2 separate regions of the Homo sapiens genome follow, and region 1 is linked to region 2. The links are contacts of gene promoters, found by promoter capture Hi-C in human tissues and cell types (Jung and others, 2019). All regions are on one chromosome and are shown on one strand. The core of a region is centred on a gene start or on the middle of the fragment in contact, and the rest is flanking DNA. Distances in the headings are between cores, read along the strand shown. Region 1 holds the start of ALDOC (aldolase, fructose-bisphosphate C). Region 2 holds the start of POLDIP2 (DNA polymerase delta interacting protein 2).

Evidence for each region. The method cuts DNA at HindIII sites, captures the fragments that hold promoters and counts their contacts. A contact is called where the count stands out against the background at its distance.
Region 1: a fragment that was not itself captured here is called in contact with the fragment with the promoter of POLDIP2 in region 2 in 1 of the 25 tissues and cell types used here (dorsolateral prefrontal cortex).

Annotation. Positions count from the first base shown.
Region 1 is chr17:28,571,593-28,578,041 of GRCh38, reverse strand. It overlaps ALDOC (aldolase, fructose-bisphosphate C), which reads left to right and starts at 1,147. Exons shown (of 9, transcript NM_005165.3): 1 at 1,147-1,241; 2 at 2,498-2,621; 3 at 2,708-2,919; 4 at 3,036-3,090; 5 at 3,186-3,346; 6 at 3,465-3,548; 7 at 3,801-3,975; 8 at 4,108-4,307; 9 at 4,421-4,922. The coding sequence starts at 2,510. The coding sequence ends at 4,516. It overlaps SPAG5 (sperm associated antigen 5), which reads left to right. Exons shown (of 24, transcript NM_006461.4): 23 at 1-32; 24 at 272-468. The coding sequence ends at 343. RefSeq lists enhancers at 745-924, 6,138-6,187 and a silencer at 975-1,214. The HindIII fragment of the contact is 3,007 bases long and covers 2,650-5,656 here.
Region 2 is chr17:28,351,496-28,358,776 of GRCh38, reverse strand. It overlaps POLDIP2 (DNA polymerase delta interacting protein 2), which reads left to right and starts at 1,250. Exons shown (of 11, transcript NM_015584.5): 1 at 1,250-1,489; 2 at 2,901-2,982; 3 at 4,192-4,289; 4 at 4,986-5,082; 5 at 5,461-5,536; 6 at 5,758-5,865; 7 at 6,977-7,113. The coding sequence starts at 1,329. It overlaps VMA12 (vacuolar ATPase assembly factor VMA12), which reads right to left and starts at 1,130. Exons shown (of 6, transcript NM_152464.3): 1 at 896-1,130. The coding sequence starts at 1,106. RefSeq lists enhancers at 873-972, 1,085-1,850 and a silencer at 1,163-1,552. The HindIII fragment of the contact is 19,434 bases long and covers 1-2,029 here.

The DNA.
Region 1 (6,449 bases), core at 2,904-5,403, 220 kb before region 2:
AACTAGATGACATTGTTCAGCATATTTATAAGGTATAGGCAGGAGGGAGGTGATATCACTAATGAACCTGGTACAAGGCCTGGCCCCAGGAGGTACTAATGAGCACAGATCTGGTTCCCAGCCTGTGCTGAGAGCTGGGCCTGAATCACTATTGCAGGCTTCTCTGTGGTGTCTGTTTTCTCCCCTCTAATTCAGCGGCTGCCTCCTGGGGCTGGGAGCCCTGGGCCTTAAGTCTGTGGTCCTGAGCTGCGTTTTCTGCCTCTCTTCCCAGACCCTGCTCTCTATTCCAGAGGTGGTGAGGGGATGCAAAGAACTACAGGGATTGCTGGAATTTCTGAGCTAAGAAACTGAAAGCCAGAATCTGCTTCACCTCTTTTTACCTGCAATACCCCCTTACCCCAATACCAAGACCAACTGGCATAGAGCCAACTGAGATAAATGCTATTTAAATAAAGTGTATTTAATGAATTTCTCCAAGCTTACGGAATCTTACTTTTTGGGTGAGAGGGGGCGGATGATGAAGTCAGGGAAGAAGCAGCTTGGGCCTCCTGCCTGGGCACCCTCCATAGATCCCTCTCCACCTCCTGCTGCATCCAAAGCCAAGGCTGCCTGCCCTTCCTCCCTTCCTCTGCTTTCACCAAAACTCTGGGCACTGGACTGCTTGTTCCCTGGCTCACCGCCTGGAGGAAACAGAAAGGCTTCATTCTCTTACTTTCCCCAGCCCCCTCGGGGGTATACCCTGGCAAATATGGGGGTGAGGACAGAGAAGCTCAGTTCATTACTTCCTGCCCTGAACTTGGGCACCTTGAAGATGCTTCTGCCCCACCTACTCAACCTGTTGTTACTGTTCTGGTGCCTCCTCTTCACCAGACTAAGCTTAATCCCCAGCATCCAGCAAGTGCCCGGCACGTGGTAAAGGGATTGTGGCAGAAATGAACGCAAGGTCATGGCCAGGCTCCCCGAGGTGGGAGGGCAGTCCCTAACAGCCACGGATGCCTGGCGGGGCGCTCACTCCACCTCGCCGCCCCGCCTCTGAGGGCGTGGTCTTGCCCCGGACACCAGTCCTGGGGAGGGGGTGTGGTCAGGGCGGGGCATGCAGGCCACGCCCCCGGAGGAGTCACGTAGCTCTGCGACATCCGCAGCCTCATTTACCAGAGGGAGCCAGGGCTGCAGCCTCATCTGTTTGCGGATCAGAACCCGAGCTGTGCTTGTGGCTGCGGCTGCTAACTGGCTGCGCACAGGTAAGGCCAGGCAAGGCGGGAGCCACTCAACATCTCCGCTTCATTTCCTTGGCTCTTCCCCTGCCATCCTCGTCCTGCTACCTGGGACTCCGGGATGTGCCCTTTCGACCCTTTCCTAACATCTTTGCTCCTTTCCGCGTACTTGAAACCCCATGGCTCAACCTCTTCTGTTCTATCCCTCTTCAGCTCTCCCAGCTGGACCTCAGCTTTTCCAATCCCAAATCCTCCTCTACTTGTTGGATTTTTCCTTGGAGTCTGTCTCTCCTACCCAGAGCATTTCCTTCTCAGCCTGCTCCCTCTCCTCCTAGGCTAGGTCCTCTCTCCAGTTCTCCCGCCTTCTCTGCCCCCCGGTCTAGGTCTCTCCCGCTGACTGGTTAGCCTGCATCACCACTAGCTCCCCTCAGTCTCATCTCTCTCTCAGGCTCTCTACTCCTTTCAGCCTTGGTCCTCTGCCCTCCCGTCTGGGTGTCTGAGTTGTGGGGAATTGAAGTGCTTCCTATTGCTATCCTCCTGCCAAACAGGTGAAGTGCTTCCTGGGCACAGAGATGACCCGGAGGTGTCACTAGCCCTAGTCTCCACACACTAACACAGCTGACCCGCTGGGCCCTCTTTCCTACATCACTGCAGCCCCACTGGGGCCAACCTCTGGTACTGGGTGGGAATAGGCAATAGGCATAGGCAGGCAGGTTTGGAGTACAGAAAAGGAGAAGCTGCAGGAGCCTGTGACTGGTATTTGTGCCACTCCTACTCCCTACCTGTTCTTCCAACCTTTTCCTCTAGAAGCTGAGAGAAGAGGGTGGCAATAAGTACTTTTGCCTCATTCTGAAGCCTTGGAAGTAAGTACACTTTCCCTAGGGGTCCTGTGGAGGATGAGAAAAGGGAAGCTGGAAAGGCCAGGACTTTTGCCTACCTCAACAAGGGACCAAGTTCAGTGAAAGAAGGGTTGGCATCCTTGATTGGGCAGCAGATTTATCAGAAGAGCTGTGGCTTCAGGGCTGCTCACCTCCCCACCCCCACCCTGCATCTTTCCCCAGGGCTGGGAAGGATGCCTACCAGGGACAAAAGGAGATGTGGGAACTGGAGCCCTAAGCTTGCTAGCTGTCAGAAGGACTGGTGCCACTTGATGCCCAGGACTCATGCCAAGGACTGCTGCCCTGTTCCCAGCCCCTTGCTTGATGGGGAGGCCATTTGGCCCATCTGGCCAGGAGAGGCAGCAGAGGGTGAGGTCTGGCTTTTTTATCTTGTCTCCACTCCAGGGAGCTGTCACCATGCCTCACTCGTACCCAGCCCTTTCTGCTGAGCAGAAGAAGGAGTTGTCTGACATTGCCCTGCGGATTGTAGCCCCGGGCAAAGGCATTCTGGCTGCGGATGAGTCTGTAGGTAAGTGGACATCTGTAGCCAGGTAGGGTACAGGTGGCTAGGGGACCCTGGGGATGTTCTCACTGCCTCTCTTTGTTTGCCCCTAGGCAGCATGGCCAAGCGGCTGAGCCAAATTGGGGTGGAAAACACAGAGGAGAACCGCCGGCTGTACCGCCAGGTCCTGTTCAGTGCTGATGACCGTGTGAAAAAGTGCATTGGAGGCGTCATTTTCTTCCATGAGACCCTCTACCAGAAAGATGATAATGGTGTTCCCTTCGTCCGAACCATCCAGGATAAGGGCATCGTCGTGGGCATCAAGGTGCAGCCCCTGGCCCTGCTCTGAATGGAAGCTGGGTGTGAAAATAAGCTTGTGTAGGAGGGGTAGCAAGGAGAATCCTGCCTGGATTCAACCCTCTGCTTGTACTTCCTCTACAGGTTGACAAGGGTGTGGTGCCTCTAGCTGGGACTGATGGAGAAACCACCACTCAAGGTATAGGATGGGTGGGCTTGAGGACCAAAGAGGTGTTAGATAGTTGATGCTGGTAAAAGAGGGGCAGAGTAATGAGGTTGGCACTGTGCTTGCAGGGCTGGATGGGCTCTCAGAACGCTGTGCCCAATACAAGAAGGATGGTGCTGACTTTGCCAAGTGGCGCTGTGTGCTGAAAATCAGTGAGCGTACACCCTCTGCACTTGCCATTCTGGAGAACGCCAACGTGCTGGCCCGTTATGCCAGTATCTGCCAGCAGGTGTGTGTGTTGGGAGGGTGGTGAGCTAGGTGCCCTGTATGCCTGGTGGGGAGAGAGTCACAAGGCTTTCTTCATCTCCCCTACTGCCCCTCCCAAGCATCTCTGCTCTTGCCTGCAGAATGGCATTGTGCCTATTGTGGAACCTGAAATATTGCCTGATGGAGACCACGACCTCAAACGTTGTCAGTATGTTACAGAGAAGGTGAGTCCACACCTGGGCACACAAACATACTGCAGGGACAGCTCGGCAGGAGTGTCTGTTCCCCAGAACCCCCAGCTTAGATCCAGGCACACTTTCCCCTAGCACTTTTTCACTTCATCCCGGCACAGGCCTGTGATCTGAGCCTGTACTGAGCCCTCACAGTCTGTGCCCATCTACCCCTACATAGGGAGCATCGAGCAGTAACCAGTGGGGGCCCAGACCCTTAGTAAACCTCCTCTAATCCCCACCCAGGTCTTGGCTGCTGTGTACAAGGCCCTGAGTGACCATCATGTATACCTGGAGGGGACCCTGCTCAAGCCCAACATGGTGACCCCGGGCCATGCCTGTCCCATCAAGTATACCCCAGAGGAGATTGCCATGGCAACTGTCACTGCCCTGCGTCGCACTGTGCCCCCAGCTGTCCCAGGTACTACCCAGCTCCCTAACCTGCTCCTATCCCTAAGGCCCATCTTCAGGTCCTTCTTGTGGCCTTCAGGGGTTCCCTATCCTGGAAAAATTGGGAGTGACCAGTCAGTTTGTCTTCTCTCCTCCACACTAGGAGTGACCTTCCTGTCTGGGGGTCAGAGCGAAGAAGAGGCATCATTCAACCTCAATGCCATCAACCGCTGCCCCCTTCCCCGACCCTGGGCGCTTACCTTCTCCTATGGGCGTGCCCTGCAAGCCTCTGCACTCAATGCCTGGCGAGGGCAACGGGACAATGCTGGGGCTGCCACTGAGGAGTTCATCAAGCGGGCTGAGGTTGGGAGCTACAGGTGGTGGTGGGTGGGGGCAGCACCCAGAGGCTATAGCCTGGGCAGGGCTTGGCACCTGTGGGCTGGCTCAGCCTGCTTACTCCACGCTCCCTTTTGCAGGTGAATGGGCTTGCAGCCCAGGGCAAGTATGAAGGCAGTGGAGAAGATGGTGGAGCAGCAGCACAGTCACTCTACATTGCCAACCATGCCTACTGAGTATCCACTCCATACCACAGCCCTTGGCCCAGCCATCTGCACCCACTTTTGCTTGTAGTCATGGCCAGGGCCAAATAGCTATGCAGAGCAGAGATGCCTTCACCTGGCACCAACTTGTCTTCCTTTCTCTCTTCCCTTCCCCTCTCTCATTGCTGCACCTGGGACCATAGGATGGGAGGATAGGGAGCCCCTCATGACTGAGGGCAGAAGAAATTGCTAGAAGTCAGAACAGGATGGCTGGGTCTCCCCCTACCTCTTCCAGCTCCCACAATTTTCCCATGATGAGGTAGCTTCTCCCTGGGCTCTCCTTCTTGCCTGCCCTGTCTCCTGGGATCAGAGGGTAGTACAGAAGCCCTGACTCATGCCTTGAGTACATACCATACAGCAAATAAATGGTAGCAAAACATTCTACTTTGCCTGTCTGTTTTACACATCAAATTCCCACCTCCCAGTTTCTGATCTCTGCTAATTCTATCTCTGGGCCCTCTGACTCTGGAGGTGGAGAGGGTGGGATTTGAGTCTTACTGGGCTTCAAGTTATGGAGGAAGGGCACATGCAGTCACCATCCCCAGCTCAGGCTCTTGCTCTCTTGATGTCCAAGTCTGGAGTGGGGCAATGAGGAAGACTGCAAGTCTTCTAGGGACTGCCACATCAGTGGCACTGGGCTGCAGCTACAGAAGTATGGAGTGAGGCCAAACTGGCAACTCCTGAAGGCAGATTTGTGCAAGGCTCAAAGCAGGGAGGCAGCAAGACAGGCTGGGATAAGAGTGGGTGGGAGTCTCTCCCATCTCGCAGTGTTAAGCCCAGCTGGGACCTGGTACCTTCCACTAGGGTGAGCCACACCAGTAAGGGCAAGCGAGCACCTGGACTCCCGCCCAAAGAGGAAAACCAAGGCTCTGCGGGCTGCCAGGGCTGAGCAGGGCATCTAGGAGGTTGCCAAGGGCTATGGCCCATTTTCATTTGGGGTAGAAGTGGGCACAAAGGGAGCCAATTGGAGGGTCTGGGTAAGGACAGCTCTGGTGAGGCCTGATGCTGAACTTTAACCACTGGGCTGGGTTGTGAGGTAGGCTGAGAACCTGGGTCTAAGCAGATAAAAAGAAGAGATAACAAGCTGCGTGTGTTCTGTGTCAACTGGGGAGGCTACAAATGCTCCACCCTGTGTGGCCTGACTTTATAATAACAAAAATAGCTTGCACATAGCACCAACCCTGTTCTAATCACTTTATATGTACTGACACATTTCATACAACTCTATAAAGTAGGTACTATTACTATCATCCCTATTTTAATAGAGAAAACAGGCACAGATAGGCACAGAACGATCTTCTCACGATCACTCACCTAATAAGTGATGAAGCCAGGATTTGAACCGCAGTGATCAGCATCTAGAGTCTGGGCTCATGACTTTTCAAGATTTTTAAGTGAAGTATTCTGAGTTTTCCAAGTTGGAAATGAATTAAAACGTATTTTAAAATAGCGAGAGAGCCAATTGTGCTAAAACATACTAGCTTGCTACCTCCGTGTTTGAGGCTTTGAGGAGAGGGCACCCTAAGAGGAGTTCTACGATAAGGATAATAAGACCGTGACAGTTGACGTTGAGGGCTTTCCGTGTGCCAGGCTCCTTACAAGAACGGCCTCATTTATGTAAATATCTCCATTTTCAGATGAGCCTCGGAGCTGCCTGTAGTTGCCCAGCTAGTATTTAAGGACTGCAGAGGTTGCGCTCTTGATTGCGGGGCTAGAAGTGTGTTCTACAGGGAAGCGGGGAACTTCGTTCCAGCAGCGCCGAAACCCGCACGGCCCCTAGGCTGTCCCTCCGCGCCCGGGTGACTTCCTTTCAGATCCCCAGCGAAGCTCCCAGCGGAGCCCTCCCACCCCTCGCCCGCTTGCTCCCGTCTGCGGGTCTGGAGTAGCGCTCGCGATTGGCCCCGAT
Region 2 (7,281 bases), core at 1-2,500:
ATTGAAAAGAATTTTGGATAATTCCATGTAGGTATCTCCCAGTGCTGCGCAGGTGACTTTAGCTGTCAGCTCTCAATTATCCTGCCAGTGTTATAACTAACAAGTAAGCCATTTACTTGTGCCTTTGGGTTAGATCAGTTCTGTGGCCACAACAGCTCTTCCCTAAATAAGTTTAGGTCATAGTGATGCTAAATGCTCAGAGGACACTAATACTAGGCAATCTCTTTCTAAGGTCCTTTCTAGTTCTAATAATTGAGCAGTCTACCCTTTGCACTTCTGGCTGGTCTATGTTACTTCTGGCAAAATACCTTATGTGCTAGTTTGTCCTGTTCCTTCCCTTTACACATAAGGGAACTGAGGCCCAGCGAGGAGAAATGACTCCTTCAAAGGATTAGTGACAGAGCTAGGACTGGAACTCACATGCTACTCTCAGGCCAGATCTTTCAACACAGCTTTTGCCATCCTATATTAAAAAAACAAACAAACAAAACAAAGTATCAGATTTCACCACTCTTGCTTTTGAGGTGGAAAGAAATCCGGATTCCTACAAGCTCACTATGCTAAGCTGATTCCTAAAGTGGAGAAAAAGAAGAGACAAAACCTGTGATATTTGTATTTGGTAAAAACCTAGACTTTCTCAAGGGTGAATTGGGCCTAGGTGTGCCTGGAAGTGAAGAGGGGGCTCTCAAAAGAGCAGAAACTGCACAAGCAAATTTGTCATCCACGAGAAATTCCCATGGGAGTTAAGAAAGTGGGTGGCCCTGGGATTTATGGAGTGACTCTTGACTTGTCTAGATGAGTGCTCCGTAGAAGAAGGGGAATGATGGGAAAAGACCTCAGGAGGGAATCGATCTGGACACAAGGAGGGGACCCCGGACTGGAGACTGGGGCTCACCCCTTTCTCTCAGATGCTGGTGCAGATCCCGGATGAGACGGAAAGAAACCAAGCGTTGGGGGCCACTGGAGCTATCACCGCCCTTGTGCTTCTTCCCCAGCGCGGCCTCAAGCTCGGCCCGCAGCTTTCGGGGTAGCCGCTCTGGCTCCAGCTCCCCGCCGGGGCCCAAAGCACGCACCAATCGCTCGCCCGCAAGCAAAGAGGACGCCATATCTAGCCGGCTCTCCGGTCAGGTGACCCCAACCCGGACTTCCGCCCGCCGCGCGCCGGAAGTAACGCTAAGCGCACCGGAAGTTGCTCTGAGCTCCGGGGTGGGACCAGGCGGGCCAAGAGGGCCGGGACGCCGCGCGGGGCAGTGTGGGACTGGGGCGGAACGCCGCCCGGCCGCGGGTCGGGCTCTGTGTCAGCAGCCGGGCGGGCGCTCGGGCGGGACATGGCAGCCTGTACAGCCCGGCGGGCCCTGGCCGTGGGCAGCCGCTGGTGGTCCCGGTCGCTGACTGGGGCCCGGTGGCCAAGGCCGCTCTGTGCGGCGGCCGGAGCTGGAGCCTTCTCGCCAGCGTCGACCACGACGACGCGGAGGCACCTCTCGTCCCGGTGAGGGACGGAGCCAGGGGGCGCGAGGAACTGGGCCTGGAGCCCAGAGAGCGTGTTCCTAGCCAGTGCGGAGGCCAGGGGCCCGGGCCTGCTGAGGGTGACTGGAGTTTGACCCGGGAGAGGGTCCCGAGCAGGGAGCCGACCTGCGCTGTCTGGGACATGTGCCAGGAGCAGGGAAGCCAGCGCGGCCCAGAGCCCTGGTTGTACAGGGCTGGCCCTGGGGGGGAACAGGTTACCCTCCCCAAGTGAATCCTACTTCCCCGGCTGGGGTCCCCAGCACCGATGTCAGAGGGAAGCTTTTTAATTCAGCCCTAGGGCATTGGCTTGAACCCTCAGCCTTTGGATTTGGTGAAGGTCTGCCTCAGAAAGATGCTAGAGGTGGGAAACGAGACTCTTGGGTGTGGACCCTCGTAGGCCCCAGGTTTCCAAGTGACTTTGGGGAGATCGATTTTCTATCTGTGACTTGGGGAAGGGGGTTTGAGGCCATGGGGATGGTGTGGAAACTGTTTCCACGGATGGGACAGGCGGATCAAATGGGCTGGTGGATCAGTGGGAGGAAGCATAAAGTTCACATCTTCAAAACAGTAAAAACAGCCTTTATTTGAAGGGCCCCTAGAAAGAGCAGCCCTGTTCAGAGTGGTGACTGACATTTTAGTGGCTGATATTAGACACTGAACATTGGGGAGAGATGATAGCTATTTGCAATTTAAGACCCCTGTGAGAATATGAACAAAAACGGTATTGAGAGAGCGATGTGCCGTAGGAAATCTAGAGATGTTTAAGCTTTTCAAGGGCAATGTAAGGGCTACAGGTTAGAGGGGGAGATGGACATGGAATTATAATACAGGACAAATATTTTTTGAGCACCTCTTGTACACTAGGCTCTGAGGGGGCAGTACCAGCTAATCAGACTCAGGCATTGCTCCCAGGGAATTTACAGTATTTAATAAAGATAAGACATGGACACAACTGAAATGTAAAGGGAGCAGGATATTGTTTGATGACTTGTGATATAGAAAATGTAAGAAAAGAAGAAAAAAAGATACTCCCCTTCTAAAAAAATTGAAAAAGTGAGCAAGACAGTTAAAGTGCTGTGGGAGGTCAGGAGGGTGGGTTAGGGAAGAAACAAGGGCAGGGGTACATTTGAGCAGAGTGTGAGGGCATGATATGAAGAATGCCCAGTGAAGAGAGAAGACAGTAGTATGGGAGCGGTCACATCTAACACTGGGAGACTGTGGAGGTTTTCACCAAGGAGGAGGAAAGCCTTTCCTGCTCCAGCTGGTCCCACTACCCCAAACCCTTCTCTGCTGTCATCGCCCTGGCCCCTCAGTATCCTAGGAGCTTTTTCTTATGGATAACTACCATTACCTTCTCAGCTTTTCTGTTGCTTGTTCTTTTCCTTCCTACTCAGAAACCGACCAGAGGGCAAAGTGTTGGAGACAGTTGGTGTGTTTGAGGTGCCAAAACAGAATGGAAAATATGAGACCGGGCAGGTGAGTATTGGGCTGGGTCATCTTTCATTTTCATAGAGTGCTCTGCTTCTGAAAAAAGTCAGATTAGGTCACAGGCCTGCATGGTATGGTGTTCCATTCATTCCACCTTGATGTTTGGTGCCATTCCAGAATCAAATTTGTATTCATTTTTTATTTTATTTATTTATTTTATTTATTTATTTTTTGTGAGACGGAGTTTCAGTCTTGTTGCCCAGGCTGGAGTGCAATGGCATGGTCTCGGCTCACTGCAAGCTCCACCTCCTGGGTTTAAGCAGTTCTCCTACCTCAGCCTCCCTAGTAGCTGGGATTACAAGCATGCGCCACCACACTTGGCTAATTTTGTACTTTTAGTGGAGATGCGGTTTCTCCATGTTGGTCAGGCTGGTCTCGAGCTCCCGACCTCAGGTGATCCACCTGCCTTGGCCTCCCAAAGTCCTGGGATTACTGGCGTGAGCCACCGCACCCAGCCCAGAATCAAATTTTTATAGATAGGGTTTCTGTTCTCCTGGATTTGAATGCACTTAATGTGTCAGTGGGTTCTCTTTCCAAGTTAATGTGGACAGGGATGGTGTGGACTATAGTGAGGTTTAGCCAAGTTGCTGAAGATTTCTCTAACATAGTGGATGGTGGGAAGCCGTGGAGGGAGCTTTCAGAAAAGTATACCTTTGATGCTTTGCCGTAATAAAATTGACTTCAGTGTGGTAAACTCTGGATGTGTGGTTCTTTTTCTATATCAGCTTTGTTCTGGGTCCACTGGGATAGATTTAGGCCCTTCTAGGATATTGTAGGTAAGGAAGACTTTTTGTTTGTTCAACATTTTATTTTTCTGTGTGCCTACAATGGACTAGGCATTGTGCATTAGGGTTAAATCAGAAAGCAAAGTAGACATGATTCCTGCTATTGTGGAGTTTCTAGTCTAGAAAAGAACGATTTGCAAATGGCCAATAGCTGTACATTGTGCTAAGTGGAAGGGAGGTCAGGGAAGGCTTCCTGGAGGCCTAAGCTTTTACCTAAAGGATGAGTAGAGTCAGCCAGGTAAAGAAGAAATAAGAGTGTTCCAGCATTGGTCTGGTTGATCACAGACTTCAAGGGAAGAGGTAGCAAGACCTTGTGCTGGAGTTGCCTCCACCTGTGTTGCTTTGTGGTCTGGGGCCCACCTGGATGGATTTGCTGGACTGCAGACTCACTGAGGCCCCTCTTTCCTTCCAGCTTTTCCTTCATAGCATTTTTGGCTACCGAGGTGTCGTCCTGTTTCCCTGGCAGGCCAGACTGTATGACCGGGATGTGGCTTCTGCAGCTCCAGAAAAGTAAGTTTCCCTGTGGTTGTGCCTCACAGTATCCTCAGGAGGAGATGGCAGACATATGTAATTGGGGTACTAGGGGTGAAGACAGCGTCCTCCTAGGCCTTGGAAACATCCCCAGAGTACTTCTCTGGGACTAAGACCCATGGAGACAAAAGTGCTGAGTGCCAGGGATAGTCTAAGTCAGAGAGTCCCTTTAGGCCTCCTCAGAATGCTTTCCTAAGCCATTCCTAATTTTCATTATGAGTATCCCAGAGGGCATTTGGGGGACAAGTCTTCTTGATTTCTTGATGTTCAGCTGGAGTCTTTCCCTCAATCTCACATCATCCCTAGAATACATTAAAACAGAAAAGGTTCAGCCCCATTAAGTGATCACAGACAGTCCCTGGGATATAAGAAGACAAGAGTACTCTGGGCCCTGGGGACTGAGGTGGCAATTTGATTTTCTCAACATGGCCCCCTTCTTTTAAGAGGTATCCACACGGTCAGATGATGGCTCCATACCATGGTCTTCCATGCTCTATTATTTGCCCCAACTGAGGAGCAGCTGAGCTGAGGTGCTGCAGAGCAGGTGTCCAGCTGGTGCTAAAGCCCCTTTAGATCAGAGACCAGCCTGTTTAGGTGAGGAGGAGTAGGGAGCTGAGTCAGCCACAGCTTCCATTTCTCCTGGGGTGATCTTGGCCTCCTTCTCCCACCCCATAGAGCAGAGAACCCTGCTGGCCATGGCTCCAAGGAGGTGAAAGGCAAAACTCACACTTACTATCAGGTGCTGATTGATGCTCGTGACTGCCCACATATAGTAAGTAAGCAAGATGGCTGGGCTTGGGGGTCCTCTCCATGGAAAGTCCTGCATCCCAATGGGGACAAAGGGAGGGAAGGGGGTCAAACAGAGCCCAGGTCAGTCTTGGTCCCCAAGGCCTTGGACTGCACAGTGGCCAACAAAGCCCTGATTCACGTCTTTTTTTTTTTTTTTGATATGGAGTCTCACTCTGTCGCCAGGCTGGAGTGCAGTGGTGAGATCTCAGCTCACTGCAACCTCTGCCTCCCGGGTTCAAGTGATTCTCCTGCCTCAGCCACCCGAGTAGCTGGGATTACAGGCATCTGCCACCACACCAGCCTAATTTTTGTACTTTTTAGCAGAGACATGGTTTCACCACTGATTCACTTCTTGCCTTAGTCTCAGAGATCTCAGACAGAAGCTGTGACCTTCTTGGCTAACCATGATGACAGTCGGGCCCTCTATGCCATCCCAGGTGAGTAGTTAGCATTTGAATGGTGCCCGTCAAGAAGGAGTCTGGTGTGTCTCAGGGAGAGGATTCTGATGTCCTGTCATCCACTGGGAGGGATTATGATGCTGAGAGGTATGATATCAGGGTTATCCCATACTGGAACAAGGCCAGTTAATGTTTCTTCTCAACCCCATCTCTCTCCTCTCCTGTGAGTTTCACCACTGTCTTTTGCATCTCTGTGCCAGGCTTGGACTATGTCAGCCATGAAGACATCCTCCCCTACACCTCCACTGATCAGGTTCCCATCCAACATGAACTCTTTGAAAGATTTCTTCTGTATGACCAGACAAAAGGTAATCTCTCTCAAGAAGGGGAGGTGGAATGGGAGGGCCTTTTCATCAAAGAATATCATAGAAATAATTCCAGGGCCGGGCACGGTGGCTCACGCCTGTAATCCCAGCACTTTGGGAGGCCCAGGCAGGTGGATCATCTGAGGTCAGGAGTTCAAGACTGGCCTGGCCAACCTGGTGAAACCCTGTCTCTACTAAAAATACAAAAATTAGCTGGGCGTGGTGGTGGGCGCCTGTAATCCCAGCTACCTGGGAGGCTGAGGCAGGAGAATCACTTGAACCCAGGAGGGTGGAGGTTGCAGTGAGCCGAGATTGCACCATTGCATTCCAGCCTGGGCAACAGAGCGAGACTCCATCTCAGGAAAAAAAAAAAAAAAGGCCCGGGTGCTTGTGGCTCACGCCTATAACTCCAGCACTTTGGGAGGCTGACACGGGCAGATCACTAGGTCAAGAGATCAAGACCATCGTGGCCAATGTGGTGAAACCCTGTTTCTACTAAAAATATAAAAATTAGCTGGGTGTGGTGGCGTGCACCTGTAGTCTCAGCTACTTGGGAGGCTGAGGCTGAAGAATTGCTTGAACCCGGGAGGCACAGGTTGTAGTGAGCTGAGATCATGCCACCGCACTCCATCCCGGCAACAGATCAAGACTCCGTCTCCAAAAAAAAAAAAAAAAAAGAAATAATTCCAACGCTCTATTTCCACAACCCTTTTCAACCTCCTGTTAGAGCTGTCATGCCTCATAGGTGTCATACCTGACAGATGACAGATGGCAGTTATTTCCTTACAGATATGGAAACTGAGGATCAGGGATGATGACAAGGGACTCAAGGTTGCTAGTAGCAGAGTGAGGGCTGAAAACCAGGGCTCTTAACTGCCAGTCCGATTGTTTTCCCATTGTATCACACTAGCTCCTCAGGGCTTATTCTTGGTAGCAGTCCTGTGCCTTCTTCCAGCCTGAACTTTTGCTTCATGTATGAGCACCTTGTTTGCCTGGGCCACCACTAGGGAGGGTTTTCTAGGAGGGGCAATCGCACTGGACTATTGTGTGATTGGACTAGATACAATTGTATCCACAACACACAATTGGACTAACCAATTGTATCTTGCCCCAGCACCTCCTTTTGTGGCTCGGGAGACGCTAAGGGCCTGGCAAGAGAAGAATCACCCCTGGCTGGAGCTCTCCGATGTTCATCGGGAAACAACTGAGAACATACGTGTCACTGTCATCCCCTTCTACATGGGCATGAGGGTATGTGGCCAGCCTGGACCCCTTCTAGCAGGGGTAGGCCCCAAGGTGTATGGTGTCCTTAAGGTGACTGCCGGGGGAAGGGAGTCTAAATATAAACCATGTCCCTGTGGTTCTGCTTCCAAGTGGTGGCATGTGTTGGGTGGGGTTGAGTAGCCTCTAGACAGTGGC